4 separate regions of the Homo sapiens genome follow, and regions 2, 3 and 4 are each linked to region 1. Evidence: promoter capture Hi-C in 16 types of primary human blood cells and fetal thymus (Javierre and others, 2016). All regions are on one chromosome and are shown on one strand. Each heading gives the region's core, a stretch centred on a gene start or on the middle of the fragment in contact. The rest is flanking DNA. Distances are from core to core; before and after follow the strand shown.

What was found. The method cuts DNA at HindIII sites, captures the fragments that hold promoters and counts their contacts. A CHiCAGO score of 5 or more calls a contact.
Region 2: a fragment that was not itself captured here is called in contact with the fragment with the promoter of GRM8 in region 1 in 1 of 17 cell types (M2 macrophages); the score reaches 6.7 in M2 macrophages.
Region 3: a fragment that was not itself captured here is called in contact with the fragment with the promoter of GRM8 in region 1 in 1 of 17 cell types (endothelial precursors); the score reaches 6.5 in endothelial precursors.
Region 4: a contact is called between a fragment that was not itself captured here and the fragment with the promoter of GRM8 in region 1, in 1 of 17 cell types (M2 macrophages). The highest score is 6.1, in M2 macrophages.

Annotation. Positions count from the first base shown.
Region 1 is chr7:127,251,028-127,254,679 of GRCh38, reverse strand. It overlaps GRM8 (glutamate metabotropic receptor 8), which reads left to right and starts at 1,739. Exons shown (of 11, transcript NM_000845.3): 1 at 1,739-1,883. RefSeq lists a silencer at 472-531 and an enhancer at 652-901. The HindIII fragment of the contact is 9,242 bases long and covers 1-3,652 here.
Region 2 is chr7:126,852,167-126,856,156 of GRCh38, reverse strand. All of the region lies in intron 6 of GRM8 (glutamate metabotropic receptor 8), which reads left to right. Among named protein-coding and RNA genes, the nearest start is that of MIR592, 200 kb to the left of the region's middle. The HindIII fragment of the contact is 4,899 bases long and covers 1-3,811 here.
Region 3 is chr7:126,812,215-126,816,119 of GRCh38, reverse strand. All of the region lies in intron 6 of GRM8 (glutamate metabotropic receptor 8), which reads left to right. Among named protein-coding and RNA genes, the nearest start is that of MIR592, 240 kb to the left of the region's middle. The HindIII fragment of the contact is 918 bases long and covers 2,137-3,054 here.
Region 4 is chr7:126,794,789-126,798,734 of GRCh38, reverse strand. All of the region lies in intron 6 of GRM8 (glutamate metabotropic receptor 8), which reads left to right. Among named protein-coding and RNA genes, the nearest start is that of MIR592, 260 kb to the left of the region's middle. The HindIII fragment of the contact is 1,967 bases long and covers 1,613-3,579 here.

The sequences.
Region 1 (3,652 bases), core at 490-2,989:
GAGCCTCTCATGAGATGGGAGAAGGAAGGGAACGAAAGGGGAAGAGGTGCCCTGGGCTGAAAACCTGTAGATTTTTTCTAAGTGACAAAGGGCAAGGGTCCTTTTTTGAAATTAGGAGAGAGACAGCTGTTTCCTCAATCGAAACTTCGCACATTACAACCAGCCTTGGGAAAAGCCAACACCACCAGGGAGGAAGTGCTATGGGGTTTTGAAGCCAGACACTGATTTCTGGCTGTAATACTTTCCAGCCGTGTCTCTAAGCCTCGGCTTCTGCCTCCATCTGTAGAGTGGGCTTAATAATTTTGACCATCTCACAGAGTTGATGTGAAAATTAAAATAACCCGAACAGAACAGGCGATATATACAGGAATTAATGAAAGATTCCTGACATAATGCTTATAAGTTCATGATGCTTAGGAAGATAAAATTCATTGTAGAGATGCCGAACGGGGGTCTAGAGCTTGCCTTTTCGGGGTCTCTCCCGTCCTTCTCCATCCTCCTTATCTCCTGGGCTGCCCCCTCTCCCCCCGCGCCCCGCTCTCCCTGGCTCGCCCGGGCCTAGGGCGCCGCCTGCAGTTGCGCGCGGCCGCCTCTAGATGGAACTTTCTCACCAACGCAAGGCCCGGCCGGAGCAGCTACCCGGGAGCTGGGCGGCGAGGGGCTACTTTCTCTCATTCCGGCGGGTGCAGGATCGGGGGGCCTGGGCAGTAACTAGTGGGGAGGAGCGCTGGACTGTGCACGTCGAGCCCGGCAGGTTTCCGCATGCGGCATGCGAAGGGAATCCCGAGGTTTCCCTGCAGAACCCGAGCACGGCTCCCCCGGAGTTTCCTGCCCCGCGTCTGCGGCTCCTTGAATCATCTCAATAAAATGACCGTCCCGGTAGCCACCCATGCCCCTTCCTGCGCAGTGCCCGCAGCGGACCGCGCTGTGTGGTACCTCGAGCCCTGGGGACTCTGTTGCACGCGTCCCTCAGACCCTCGGGGGCGGGGAGTGGGGAGACAATCGCCAGAGCCGCGGGGCGGGACAAATGGCGGAACCGCCGCGCGGCGCCAGGCAAACTTTGCAAGGGAACCGCGCGGCTTGCCGGCTCTACTTTAAGCATTCCCGAAAAGAAAGCATGTGGCGGGACACTTGTCATCTACCATGTGTTATTCTCGGTGACGCTTTCTGGAGCTGTGTTCACCGGGGACCCGGGCTCGCGGGTGCTGCCCGCTGTGCTCGGGCGGGCGTCGCGCCTCCCCGCGCCGGTCCCGGGCTCGCCAGGCAGCCGGAGCCGCTGGGCTCCTCCACAACCATATTCCTTCTTCTACCGCTCCCGCTTCTTCCCACCCTCTCACTCTGTAGTTGGGTCCTCCCCTTTTTCTTGGGGGCGGGGAAGGGGGGATGATTTTTAAAAATCAGAACTATTGACATTTCTGGTCTCCTCGTCGCTTCAGGCTGAAGAGCGGAGGGGGATCCGCGGGCCGAGGGTCCCCCTCCCTGCCCGCGCCAGGGCCGCTGGGTGACACCGAAATCCAGAGGCTCCCGCCCCTCGGGGGTTCCTCCTCCCGCTTCCCGAGGTGACTGGTTGGCGCGAAGCGATTGGCGATCCCGGGCGCGATCCTGGCCGCGGCTCCCCGCGCCGCGCCGGGTGAATGGCCGCGGGCGGAGGATCGGGAGGCGCCGGGCGCAGACCAATCGCGGCCGCCGGTGGGAGTATTTGTTATTCACATGGAAGAGACTTGGCGCCTGCTAGGCCAGCTCAGCCCCCTCAGCCCAGAGATCAGCCACAAGTGCGGCCGCTGTGCTCGCCTCACGCGGCGGCGGCGGCGGCGGCGGCGGCGCTGACATGGAGCTGCGGGCCCCCGGCGGGCTTCCTCACCGCGCCCTCTGCGGGGAGCAGGGTAAGACTCGCCGCCCGGCAGCAGAAAGCGGCTCCGAGGAAAGCAAGTGCCGAACCACGGGACAAAAAGCCCCTGGCCCCCAAACTTCCCCAAAACGCCCTGCTTGTTGGAAAAGGAGAATCCCCCCGTTTTATTCCCCTTTCCGTTTTCTTCTCTAAAACCTTTCAGCGGACAGCCAGGTGCACCATTCCTTCTCATATCACTCTAGTGATTTGTTTTTCCTGAGCACAAGTAGATGGCCCTGCATGTCCGTAGTCTGTGAGAGAAATAGCGGGCGGAGGTGACGGGAATGGGGGGAGAAGGAGAGTGGGCACCAGGGGGCGAGGGGCTGGCCGGGCATTGGAGCTTGATTGGGTGTCTGTTGATTTTACGTTGCAAAGAACAAGGCAGCCACCCCTCTTGTCTGCCCATGATTACATTACAGTAAAGAGGTTCAGAAAAGAGGGAGACTTTACCCGGAACTCCCAAGGCTTGGAGATGTGATCCCCCAAAAGTTTAGTCGGCGAATGGGAGACTGAAGGGTGACGGGAAGGGGGCAGGCGCGCTCGGCGCTCTGACTGGGCGTGCGGCGGCAGGATTTTAAAGCGCTCTGCCTCGGATCGTCTGCCCTGGGTGACCTCCCGGACCTGCCCTGGTGGAATCCGGACTTGCCCCGCCGAGATGACGAGGTACCTTCGTTTCGCGAACCTAACAGGAGGGATTTCTGAAGTTAGCGGCTTCCGGGATGAGTCGGGGTAACCCCCGCCCTCTGAGCGTGGGCTGGATGGATGTCTAACCAGGATCTAGGGAGGATGGGGGTCGCGGGGGAAGCCGGGCGCTTCGGGGTCCTCGACACCCACATCCCCGCACGGCGCACGCTCTGCCTCGAGTTTGCGTTCTCCGAGTTAGCACGGCGAGCTTGGGATTTCCGTGCCCCTCTTTTGTGGCTTTCGAGAAACGCCGGAGTTCCGTGTCCTGCTGGGGGTTGGGGGGATGGAGAAAAGGTCTCGGGGATCTTGTTTAAAAAGCAAAGGCAAACGCACCCCAACAGCTCCTCGGTAGCTCCCGCGGCTGGCGCGGCCCCAGTTTCGGGCGGCCCCGCGCGGGGCGTGGGCGCGGGCGCTCGGGCGGCCAGGTGCGGCGGGGGCGGAGGCTGCATCCCCAGCGCGCCGGAATGCCCCGGGGCGCGGGAAAGGCAAAAGCAGCCTGGCGCTCTCCCCACGGCCCCAGTCTCTATCTACCCAGAACCCGGCTTCAACAGCCCAAGGAACTGAGAAGAAAAAGGAACCTGCGCTGGGAAACAGGGGCTCCTGGCGGGCTGAGTGGTCGCTGTTATGGTAGAGATAGAAACGGAGAGGTAGAGATGGACCGCTCAGCCATGCCAAGCGCGAAGCCCATCCGCCCAGCCAGAAAGCTCGGATATCCCTTGAGCTTCGTACAGTTGGTGAAAAAATAACAGAATCACCAAAAAAGAAAAAAAAATTCCCTTCGTCTGACACGCGCTCCCTTGGTGCAAATGAAATGCGGAGGGACACGCGAGTCACCCAGTTGCGCAAAACCGCACCCCCGCGGTTCCCTGGGGAATTACTTCCCCCGTGGCCCAAACTGTGAAGCCTGGTGTCAGAGAGTGTCTGCGCACCCAAGATAGCGGGGGTGAAAACAGACCCCCTCGCCGGTTGCAGAAACCCTTAAGTCCCCTAAGCAAGTCCCACCCCGGGAGGGAGTGCCTTATTTGCCATTTGGGGGATCCTTTCCCACAAACCTGAAGGTGCGGGAGTCTCTGGAACACC
Region 2 (3,990 bases), core at 113-2,612, 400 kb after region 1:
TTATTAATTATTTGAGTTCAGGAATAAAAAAAAAAGACAGAATTTACTTTTGGAAAAAAAACGTAGATTTTTAGTAATATATGAGAAGAAGTACAAAAAGCTGATGAAAGTTCATGCTTCTTAATCATTGAAGCCACTTTTCTCCTTTAAGGAAAGACTCTCCATTCTCACAATCCAGCATCTGGCATACAGCTTCACATGGCAAATGGCATCAGGAAGCCAGGAGTGTTTTCCTGGCAGCCTGGTTGGGCCATCTTCTCCTGGACACCTGCTGTGTTCCAGGGACTTTATCACCTCTTTGATTGCTGGCAGTTCACTTCATGATCAGTGTTAAGTATTTTCTCCATGGGAAGGAAGTGTGGGATATAAAAAATCATAAGAGGGCCGGGCATGGTGGCTCACACCTGTAATCCCAGCACTTTGGGAGACCAAGGCGGTTTATCACTTCAGGTCAGGAGTTTGAGACCAGCCTTGCCAACACGGTGAAACCCAATATCTACTAAAAATACAAAAATTAGCCAGGCATGCTGGTACATGCCTGTAATCCCAGCTACTGAGGATGCTGAGACAGGCGAATTGCTTGAACCTGAGAGGCAGAGGTTACCATGAGCCAAGATCACTCTATTGCACTCCAGCCTGGCTGGGGGATAGAACGAGACTCTGTCTCAAAAAAAAAAAAAAAAAGATAAATCATAAGGGCTGCCCTTTACAAATTCTGGTTCTGTGACTTCCTACCGTGACTTTGGACAAGTTTCCTAGCTGTTCTGAGACTTAGTTTTATCATCTGTAGAATGAGATTAACAGTATGTATCTTCAGGGTTGCTGACAGAATTTAAAATAAAATATGCAAGTTAGCTAGCACAATGTAGATGATCCAAAAGTGGTATCCACTCACCTCTTCACAAACTGTAGTTCATGGACCATGTAAGTCAAGAATTAAGGTACAACTATTATGAGTAAGAAAAAAATAAGAAATACTCTCCAGTTTCCTATGAAAGGATTCATATTTCTTAAGGTTATGGTCTACATCTGTAATTCAATTAAAAATATATAGAAAATATTCTTAAGGTAATAAAAGCCATCTATGACAAACCCACAGCCAACATTATACTGAACAGGGAAAAACTGAAAGCATTCCCCCTGAGAGCTGGAACAAGACAAGGATGCCCACTTTCACCACTTCTATTCAACATAGTACTGGAAGTCCTAGCCAGAGCAATCAGACAAGAGAAAGAAATAAAGGGCATCCAAAACAGTAAAGAGAAAGTCAAAATTGTTGCTGTTCACCAGTGATATGCCTAGAAAATATTTTTGATATGCACTATGGATAATGCAAAAATAGGTAAGTTATTATTACCCTTAAGGAATATTCACTTACAAATTAATTGTAATGCAAGGTAGGTAATGGTTTAAGAGAATTCCAACTAGCTACAGAAGCACAGTAAAGACAGAAATTACTTTTGGTTTAACAGCTAAGGAAGACAAAATAAGACATAGCAGCTAAGAATGAAGTAATCTTAACATTTGCATAAATGTAGATGCGTGGAAGAGCACTCCTGAGAAATTAAATTTCTCAAGGCATGATCCCAGCACCAGCTGCTTCTACATCACCTGGGAATTTGTGAGAAATGTAAGATTTTGCGTTCCACCCCAGACCTAGTGAGTCAGAAATTCTGTGGATTCTTCCAATGATGTGAGTTTTAACAAGCCTTCCAGGTGATTCTGATGCATACTAAAACTATAGCCACTAGATTAAACCATCCAAGTGAAAGTAAGAGCTGGGAAAGATAAAGCCATTTCAGGAGATGGAAGATAGTTCAATTTTTCTGGACTTCATGGTGTAAGAGAGGCAGTGGCAAAAGAAAAAGCTAGGTTGATGTAATCTAAATGAAGGATTTCCCTGTTACATTTAAGCTAGTTTTGGCTTTATTCCACTGGCGGAGGGGAACCATGGAAAAGGCTGTTTAGGGAACAGGGACAAAGGCACTGTGAGAGATTTTAAAACTTGGGAGCAACTCATTTTCTGCCCACTAAAAGGCTCACTGAACCAGAAAGAATTACAGTAGACACATTAAATGGTTTTCCCGGTTCCCTTTCTGGGAAGCATCCACACCCCACCCCCAGTTCTCCTACCCTGATGTTCACATACCAGTCTTTACAGCTGTGAGCCTCCTTCCAGCTATGTTTTCCCAGTTGACCACAACTTCCACTGATGGGCAAGCATGGGTACCTGACTCAGCCAGAGCCAATAAGGATCCATTCCTTTTTACTGCATAGTGAAAAGCAGATTTTATAACTGGGAGAAAGCAAAGGAGAGAGAGGAAAGAGGAAAAGCAAATAACGGAGAAGTTGGAGAGCAAGTGAAGAGAGGAGTGGGAGAGAACAGGAGCACACCTCCAGGCATATGGCCCCTGGGTCCTGCCCATTCCTGAGGCCCAGCACCATTCATAGGTGCCTTAGGTTCCAGGTACTGCCACTGTATCCTTATAGTAAAGTCCCTTTTTTGCTTAAGCTACTTGTTGCTCATCAAGGTGCAATGATATCGAATTTAAGTCTATATGTATACATAATCCTGTGTCAAAGATTACTTATGTAGAATGGGTCATGCATAAAACGACTTGGTTCAATTGTATGTTTTTCTGGGTCCAGGAAGAGTCCTAACTGCTTCATAGGTTAAGTCAGAAACCAGGCTTCCTGTCTCTAGAAGGCAGCCTCTGCAAGACTTGTCCATTAGAGGCTCACCTATTCTTTCTATGACCTGGAGCCTCTTAAAGTAAGTGCAAAATTTAACACAGCAAAATAAAGAGAACAAAGACTTAAAAAAAACAAACAAAAAAAACACCTTGCGACCTCCATCATCTGTTATTACATGTTACAGATCAAACAAAACACTAGTAACTGATGATGCAGAGAAAAGCAGATGCCAAATTCAGCATGCACTGTCTCCAGTGGTCTGATTCTTTCATCCTCTAAGGCCAGTCAAGTAACATCACTGTTAACATAAAATGGCTGAAAGAAACGGAGGAAGCAAGTACTACTGGTATTATTCCATCTGATACATCCTTCTTTGAAAACCCTGGACTTGTGGCCTATATTTATGAAACATTCCATCCATCACAAAATTGTTTTCTCTGAACTTTGAAAATAATGCGGATGCTAGCAAAGTTACTGTTTACTTCTAAACTGCTTGGAGCAACACTAAGTCATTTGAACAAAACTAAATTAAAAATGTTAATCTATTATGATTATTATGATCAAGGACAATCCAAAACTTAAAAATACTCAAAAAGGTAAAATTTTATCCATTTTTTATAAATACATATATTTAAGCATACAAATATATGAAAATAAATATACAGAAATAAATATAAATATATGAAAGTATATAACACACACATATTTTGATCAAAGATTAATTACACAGGCTGGATTTTGTGAGGAATAAGTCACACATCACTAGATTTTGCAAATACAACACTTGAAAATTCTCTTAAAGAAAATACTCTCAATACATTTTAAGATTTCTAAGAAGGTTTATTAAATGTTCCAATTTGGCACAAAAGCAATTTCTAATCTTTCTAGTTCAGTTCTATAAACCTATTTACTGTCAGCTCTTTCTTTTCATTTATTCCTTTTGTTAGGACTAGGATAATTTAATTAGGATAAAAGAGAAGGGTAATGATTACCGAATACCATCCTGCTATTGACAACCTGTGGCCCTTCCAGCTACTAACTGAGGAACTGCTACTGTCTTCGATTTTTGTGTTTGTTTGTTTGTAATGATACATTCCTCCAACTCCCTAGCTAAGCTTTTGTCTAATGATATCTAAGAAAGGAAAAACAACATGTCAGGCGCTGCTGTCTAGCTCAAAGCACAATGTTATGGCTCATGCTGGGCCTGGCTGCCTAGGATCTGGGATACACAGAAACAGGCACATAGAATGGCTGGAGCGGGGCACTCTCTGGGCAGGGAGGGATGACTCAGATGGA
Region 3 (3,905 bases), core at 1,346-3,845, 440 kb after region 1:
TGTAGGGAAGCTGTCTGAAGCCTGCAGACTGTGGTTTGGTTTCCCAGGCTCATTGCTGTGGAGATTGTGCATTAGAGTGCTATTTTCATATATTGTGACTATATATATATATATAAAAATCTGGCCTTTGTGTATTTGTATGTTTAGTCTCAGTCTCACCTTTGCATCATTCTCATGGAAGGCTTAAGACCTTCACCATTTACGGATTGTTCAGTTGTACATATAGTCATCATTTCCCAAGATCTTGACCTTTTTGTTGTGTTATCATCATGGCTATCATCTGATAAGAGAGTGGCTGCACAGAAGTATCTAAGACTCTAGATAGCATGCAACAGATCAGCATCATGAGCACTATGACAAAAAGAAGAATAGTTTATAGTCCTTATAAGATGTTTTGGGTCCAAGAACCTAAATTGCCCAATTCAGGCTGTGAGAAAAATTTCTACAGGGCATGAGGATCACCTTAGAGATTTAGGTAGCTTTTTCATAAGGTAGCATATAGCCTGTACTACCTTGCCTGTTTTATTAATTCATGTACAGCAAGAAGTATTACTATTGGCACAGATTCCACCATGGCTAGCCAACAAGAAATTAGAGCAATGATATTATGCATTACTACTGCTGATGAGTTAAGACTGATGTGTATTACATCTAGGGCAGAGTTGGTACTGTTAATAACTTCTGTTAGAGTTAATGTTAAATTTCTTAGTCTTTTCTATGTATACGATTTCTGGTGTTGGGAACACTGTTCTGATTATTCATATAAACAATGAGTCAGTAATTCTCCCTGATAGAATGCTTCAAAGGTGGCCTCATTTTGGAACTTGTATTTGAGTCAGAATTTCCAGCCTTGATGATTTATAGAATCAGGGCCTCTGTGTACCAAAAAGACTTGAGGTGTTAGCCTGAGGCAGATGAGACCAGGAATTTTTGTCACGAACTGGACAGCCATGGACAAAAAGAATTATTCATGACATGAGGTTGGAACCAAGGCCTCACATTAGCTGAGTTTACCTATTTGAATCTCTATTACTGTCTTCCTGGCATCAAGTAATTGGCCCATTGTCCAGTGAAGATTATGGAATTCAAATTTAGAATTATATAGAGTCTGATAAACAGGCAGTAAGAATTGGTTCTTTTTCTGGTATAGAGAGACAACAGCAAAGTCTTAGGTTGATTTGTTTAAAGTCATTTGTCCATGTAGGTACAAGTGGAAATGTCACTGATTATAATTTGCTGGGGTATCATTTGATGAGACTAGGATTGCTCAGAGGTTTTTTATCAGGGGTTCTGGTTCTGGTTGACCTATACAGCAGTCTGTAATATTGAGGGCAGTGGCTTATTTTTGAAAAAAAAAATATAAGAATGGCATTAGAATGAGTATGTTCTGACTTAATTATAATAGACAAAAAAAAAAGAGAAAAAGAACCATTATTAGTGGATGACAATCAGAGCTCTATGGAAAATAAGGAGAGTGGTAACAGGTAAGAAGATTGAAAAACAAACAAGAATGCAGGGGTTTTAGGTTGGATGTATTGGGTGCAAGCTGTCTACTGTCCAAGATCATCTTTTTCTGGAGGTTTTGGATCAGCCATCTGCTTCTGAAGACCAACTATTTCTATAATATCTCTAAGAATTCTGTTTAAGTTTTTCTGTTGGAGTAGCCTTCCAGTTGTATAGAATATTGAATTGCTTCTTTAGTTATGAAACATGAATCCAAGGATTGATCTCTGGAGTTTCAATGATGTATTTGTTGTTAAAAGTATCTGATAAGGTCCCTTACAGGGGAGGTTCAAGAACAGTTTTTTCTAATGTCTGTTCTAATAATCAGGATCTCCTGTTGAAGATCATAAAGAGGCTGTGTAGGAAAGGATTGTAAACAAGTTAAGAAGTCAATCTTAACTTATTGGTGATAAAACTGAGTATACTACATGAGCCTCTTTTGCTATTTTGTCATATTTTTGTGTAGCAGGGTAGTCTAATACTGTAGGTGGTGTCCATAAATGAAGGGGCCTTCCAGTTACCAGTTCATAGATAGATAACCAGTAATTCTCTGAGCAGGTGGACCATATGGCCATAAGTGCTGGTGGAAATAACTTTGGCCTCCCAAAGGAGGCTCACGTCCTTCAGAAAGCTTGCTAATTTTAATGATGCTAGTGGTTCTTGCAACTTTTCTAGAAAATTGTGAGTAATAAAGGCAGTGTCATTTTTGAGTAAGGGACAATGCATTACAAATTTCTTTTACAATGGCTCCCATAAAACATGAGCCTTGGTTACTTGTTATAAAAGTTGGTATGCCCCAAATTAGAAATGCATTATCAAGGAGCTTTGTACTGATTGTGAAGGCTGTAGCTTTTCAGCAAGGAAATGTTTCAACCGATCCTGAAAATAGGCATACAAGTTTCATGGAGAATGGAAATTGGACAAAACCTATCTGAGGGTGTTAAGGGTTCTTGAGGTTTCACATCCACCTTTATAGTTTCTCCAAGATGCTGTTGGGTTGACAGGTGACACATGATCTAAAAATAGCCTCATCAGTCCATAAATCTTCCCCACCAATGATGATTTAAGATAGTAACCAATTTGTCTGTACCATGATGAGTAGTTTTATAGAGAAATTTTGTTCATATCCATTGGAAGTTATTCATGTCTCCAGTGTCCTCATTGGGGGTGCCAGAGATGATCTGTGTGAAATGTGCAACCAGAGTTTTTCCATTCTTCCTTTTTAGGACTTTTTAGGAACTTAACATTGATATTTCATAACGGCCTTTTTGAATATTTCAAGGGATTTATTCTTTGAGAGTTTAATTAGGCTCATAACCTTGGTGAAGCCTGCTTATTGGCAGAATGATCTGCTATAGCATTTTCCCCAAACTTTCATACTATCAGTTTTTGTATGGGCTTCAACCTTTGTAATAGTCACCTCCCTAGGAAGCATCTAAAAGTTTCTTTTTTTAAACTTTTAAGTTCAGGGGTACATGCGTAGGTTATATAGGTAAACCTGGGTCATAGGGGTTTGTTGTACAGATTATTTCATCACCCAGGTATTAAGCTTAGTTCCCTTTAGTTATTTTTATAGATCCTCTCACTCCTCCCACCCTACAACCCCTGGTAGGCATAAAAACACATACAGGTAAATGTTCACTGCAGCACTATTCACAATAGCAAAGCTATGAAATCAACCTAAATGCCCATTGGTGGTAGACTGCATAAAAGTTTCCTGTCTGTTTTTGATGGAAGTTCCAGCAGAGATGAGAAACCTCCTTGGTTGCAAAGCATCCCAAAGTCATGTACTACTGCAAAAGCATACCTGCTCTATGTATGCATGTTTACTTTCTAGGGTTTTGTTAGATTGTAAGCTCTAGTAAGCATAATACGTTCTGCCACCTGAGCTGATGGTACCTCAGTTGGAGGAGTATAGAGTGTCCTCCCTTGGTATCTGCTGGGGATTAGTTTCAGGACTCCTCCTACAGATACCAAAATTCAAGTACACTCAACTTTCCTATATAAAATGTAATATTTGCATATAATCTACACATATCCTCCTGTATGCAGTCATGGGCCACATAACAATGTTTTGGTCAATGACGGACTTCATTTGCAACAGTGATACCCTAAGATTATAATACCATACTTTTACTGTACCTCTCCTATGTACTTACCATTGTGTTACAATTACTTATACTATTCAGTATAGTAACATGTTGTATATCTTTACAGCCTAGGAGCGCTAGGGTGTACCACATAGCCTAGTTGTGTAGTAAGCTATACCACCTAGGTTTGTGTAAGTACAGTCTGTAATGTTCGCACAATGATAAAATTATCTAACAATGCATTTCTCATAAAGTATCCCCCTCATTAATTAATGCATGACTATACTTTAAATCATCTCATGATTGCTTAAA
Region 4 (3,946 bases), core at 1,347-3,846, 460 kb after region 1:
GAACTTCACTCTTGGACGTATGAGAAGTTTAGTTTAGTAAAACGTCTTGTTGAAGGAAACTGTCCCATTTTCCCTTTTGATTTTCTACAAAGGCCCGCTACTAGGCAAGAGCCAAGGCTGACATGGAGACAGCTCAGCCCTATTTCAAAAGCTGAAACTCTCTTTACTATCCCACTGGATGCACAGGATGCTCTCACTGGCCCATCCCTGTCATTATCTCAGATATGTGCTGATGATTCAGAATGATCCTGGGTGTGGCCTTAAGGACATGTTGAAGCACCCCTATCACTATGAGGTGGCCATGGCCATGTCTTCCTCCCTTCTCTAAATGTAAAGAAAAATATTTGTATTTTTACCTAGTTTTTCTTTGCCTTAGACTTCTGGACTATTTCATCTGGATCTGTAATTTTTGCCCATCAGGACTCTCCTTGATGTCTTTGTTCTATCTTGGTAAAATGCAAACGTTGAAGCCTTTTTTCTTAATCCTGAGTTATACACTTTGAATCTGCTTTGGGGCATTCTCTTTGCCCCTATGAAGGTAATGCACACTACACAATGGAAAAAAAAAATGCTCTAAGGTATTAATCCCAATATAATGGAAGACAAGTTGAAGACACTGGACTTGGCAACGTGTAAATATGGGAAAGAATTCTGAGACTTTCTTTAGTGCAGAATTCAGAGCATCTTGATGTCATTTGGCCCTTCTCTTAGAGGCGTTCTCTTCTTGCAGTTTTCCTGGGGTTGTAAACTTATCCCCAAATAAGACAATCTCAAATCATTTTTCAAATACTATCAGTTCAATATTTGTTGTCTCCATCTTACTTTTAATGGGAACATCAAAATATATCTTTAGATAGTATTGGGCTTGAGCCAGACAAAAGTTCATGTTGCTATGAGGGAGAAGAGAGAGAGCAGTCAATTTTGAGTTCCTTTGTTGTTTTACACAATCTTAGTCCTAGGTACAGATTTTAGAATAGTATTTCATGTTCTAAGAGTAGTTTTTATACAATGATTAGACCTTTAAATTTTTCAACACTCTCCCCCTAAAGTTTTTAAGGTCAAAAATCATGAATAAATCCATGCTTGATAGACTAAAAGGTTTTGGCTTCAGAGAATTGTCAGTAGACTTCAAATTGGAGCAGCCTTTCACTTCTGTTACTTGAGAGTTATTGATAAATTTGCACACTGCTGGCTGCAGTCCTAATGAATATATTCATGGACCATGGAGCATGGCATGGTATTTAGAGAAATCCAAAATATGATTTTTTAAAAAAAATAGAGTTGGAAATGTTATTGGTGATTTAATATTTTAAAAAATAACAAGAATATATGCTATTTTGCTTGTAATTCCAGATTAAATGTTAAAAATGTAAATAATAGATGATAAACCACAAATGATGTTCTTAGGCCATTCAGTTTAAGCCACTTTTACTAATGCTATTCACAACACAGATGAAGTATTTATAAAAATTAAGAGGTTTAGCGTGGTAACTCTTATTAAGTTGTAACCTTTATATTGACAGAAAAGCTAGGATAATTATAAGCCATGAATATCTCAAGAATTAATGAACTGCAAGTCTGATAATAACTCATAGGGTGGGGATAGGAAGCTTTCACATTTAATGACCATTTCTGTAGTCTAGAGTTCAGTTTGAACTTTTATTTTTATTTTCAGTAAATGGATTATAATTGTAAAATGTCCAATTAGACTCTCCCATTCAAAAGGAGAGAACAGCGCACTTCTGATCCTGAAATTTGAATTTAACTGGGCATCGTGTATATTTATTTATTAAATCTCGCAACCCACATTTATTTATCCTAAAGAGAGATAAGATGATGAGCTCAGTGTAGGACTGAATTTTATAATGCCTAGAATTGAGACAAGCCCCAGTGGGTCCTCCAAAATTGTTTCTGGGAATAATGATATTTATTTGCTAATAATGAATATAATATCCATGAGAGGAGGGCTCTTCTTTTTGGAGGGTGCTTTAACTAGAGGATCTTAGCCAGAGGAGTCTATGTCATGCATTCACAGAGGGCTAGTGTTCTCCTAGACCAAAAAGGGAGGAATGGGCACACTGTGAACCTCAAATGAGGTGGCATCTTGTGCTTAGTTTATTTTTAATTTAAAGGGATTTAGTGTGTAAACACTAAATCACCAGGTTCCTATGAGCCACTCCCCTATCATTATATTAGTGAGAAATAGTTTGCCAGGAGCCATGACAAATGGTCATTAGGAGTGCCATGTTAACTCAGTGAAGGTCATTTAAGTCATCCACTGGTCATTTATGTTTCCCTCTTTGGTAAACACCACATTTTAAAGAAGTGGATTAATTATCATCAAAATCTAGAGCTATATGCTAATAGATATCAAGGTAGTTTTAGAATTTCACTTTTTTTTCAGAAGCAAGATGATGGCTAAGTGTTTGATATGATATGATATGTTGATGTGATACTGGGAATATACCTTTTAAGGAAATTTCAGGAAATCTGAAATCATGGACAACAGAGATAAATTATATAAAAAAGGCTTAAATGGGCGTGTACTTTTCTCATATTAATTAATTTGTGTTCTTTCTTCATTTACAAAGGTACGTTATGAAGATATATTCTTGTTAAAATTTATTTAGTAACTCCTGAAATCAGTTATCTGATTAGAATTCAGCTTTGTTTAAATTTCATCTTTAAAATCTTAACTCATGTATATTAAGGAAAATTAGAAGCTGAAATTCTTCTTGAGAAAATGTTATTTTAAGGTTCATATATTGATGTTTTATTTTATTGTAAATTATTTTTATGTGTAGACTATGTTGATGTTTTAAATGTGGGGTGACCATAATGGGGAAACTCTGCCTTTCCAAAAATTTTGGGCTTTTTTTTTTTCCAGTCTTATTTTATTCTAACTTCACTGGCTGCAGCAACATACATCCAGTAAACTTAATCTTCTCCCTTACTGTGTAAAACTGTGGATGATTTTGTGCCTGCGTTTATCCACATGGATCCCCATTCATTGGACAATTGGATAATGTCTAAAGGCTCCTAACTTTTTCGCAAGGAGGAAATGCTGTTAATTTTCTGCTGCCAGGTGAACGCTTCAAGGCAGACTGAATGGCATTGAGAGAGGTGGTTGTTACTCATGACTCCTCTCCTAATGGGAATTCTGGTGATCCAAAAAGAGGGATTTGTGACTGTAGAAGCCAATTTTCCAATTATAAAAGAATTTAGCTGATCATGGACACCAACTTTTTGGAAACTCTCATTTTATTTAGTATTTTCTAAGTATTTCCTAAAAATGATGTTTTATTTTAAAAAGATGAGTCTTATGTTGATACTTTTCATTTATTATAAACTTACCTAAAAATCAGTCAACACCTGTAAAATTTTGGGGAAAACAAATGAGTATATGAGATAGTGGAGCTGTGATGGGTACTTCACTTTGCTTCTGAGCTAGATTGTTTCAACTCTGCGCCTAATGCCTGAGAGTTTGTGTATAGTCATATCTTTCGATATCTTTAGAGCCTAGGTTTAGTATCAGTTGTTTTCAATCTCAACTGTCCAGTTGACTCAAAAAGGAAAGCTTTTTAAAAATCTTGCTGTGCCTGAGCTTTATAACTTGGGCTGCCAAATGTAATAAATAAGAACATGGGATGTTTAGTTAGATTTAAATTTCAGATAAACAAGAATTATTTTGTTACTATAAGCATGTTAAAGAAATACCTTCTGTATTTTATTTGGCAACACTGCCCATGGCCGATAGATTCTGGCTTAATTGCTCTGGGCTGAGGTCTGACCATTGGTGTTTTTATAAATTTTCCAGGTGAGTATAATGTACAGCCGACTTGGGAACCACTGGCTAGCTTGGCAGTGTTTCACAAACTGTAGTGTGCGCAGGAATCACCAGAAATCTTTGTGAAAATGCAATTTCCAAATTCCCCTCCAGTTAATT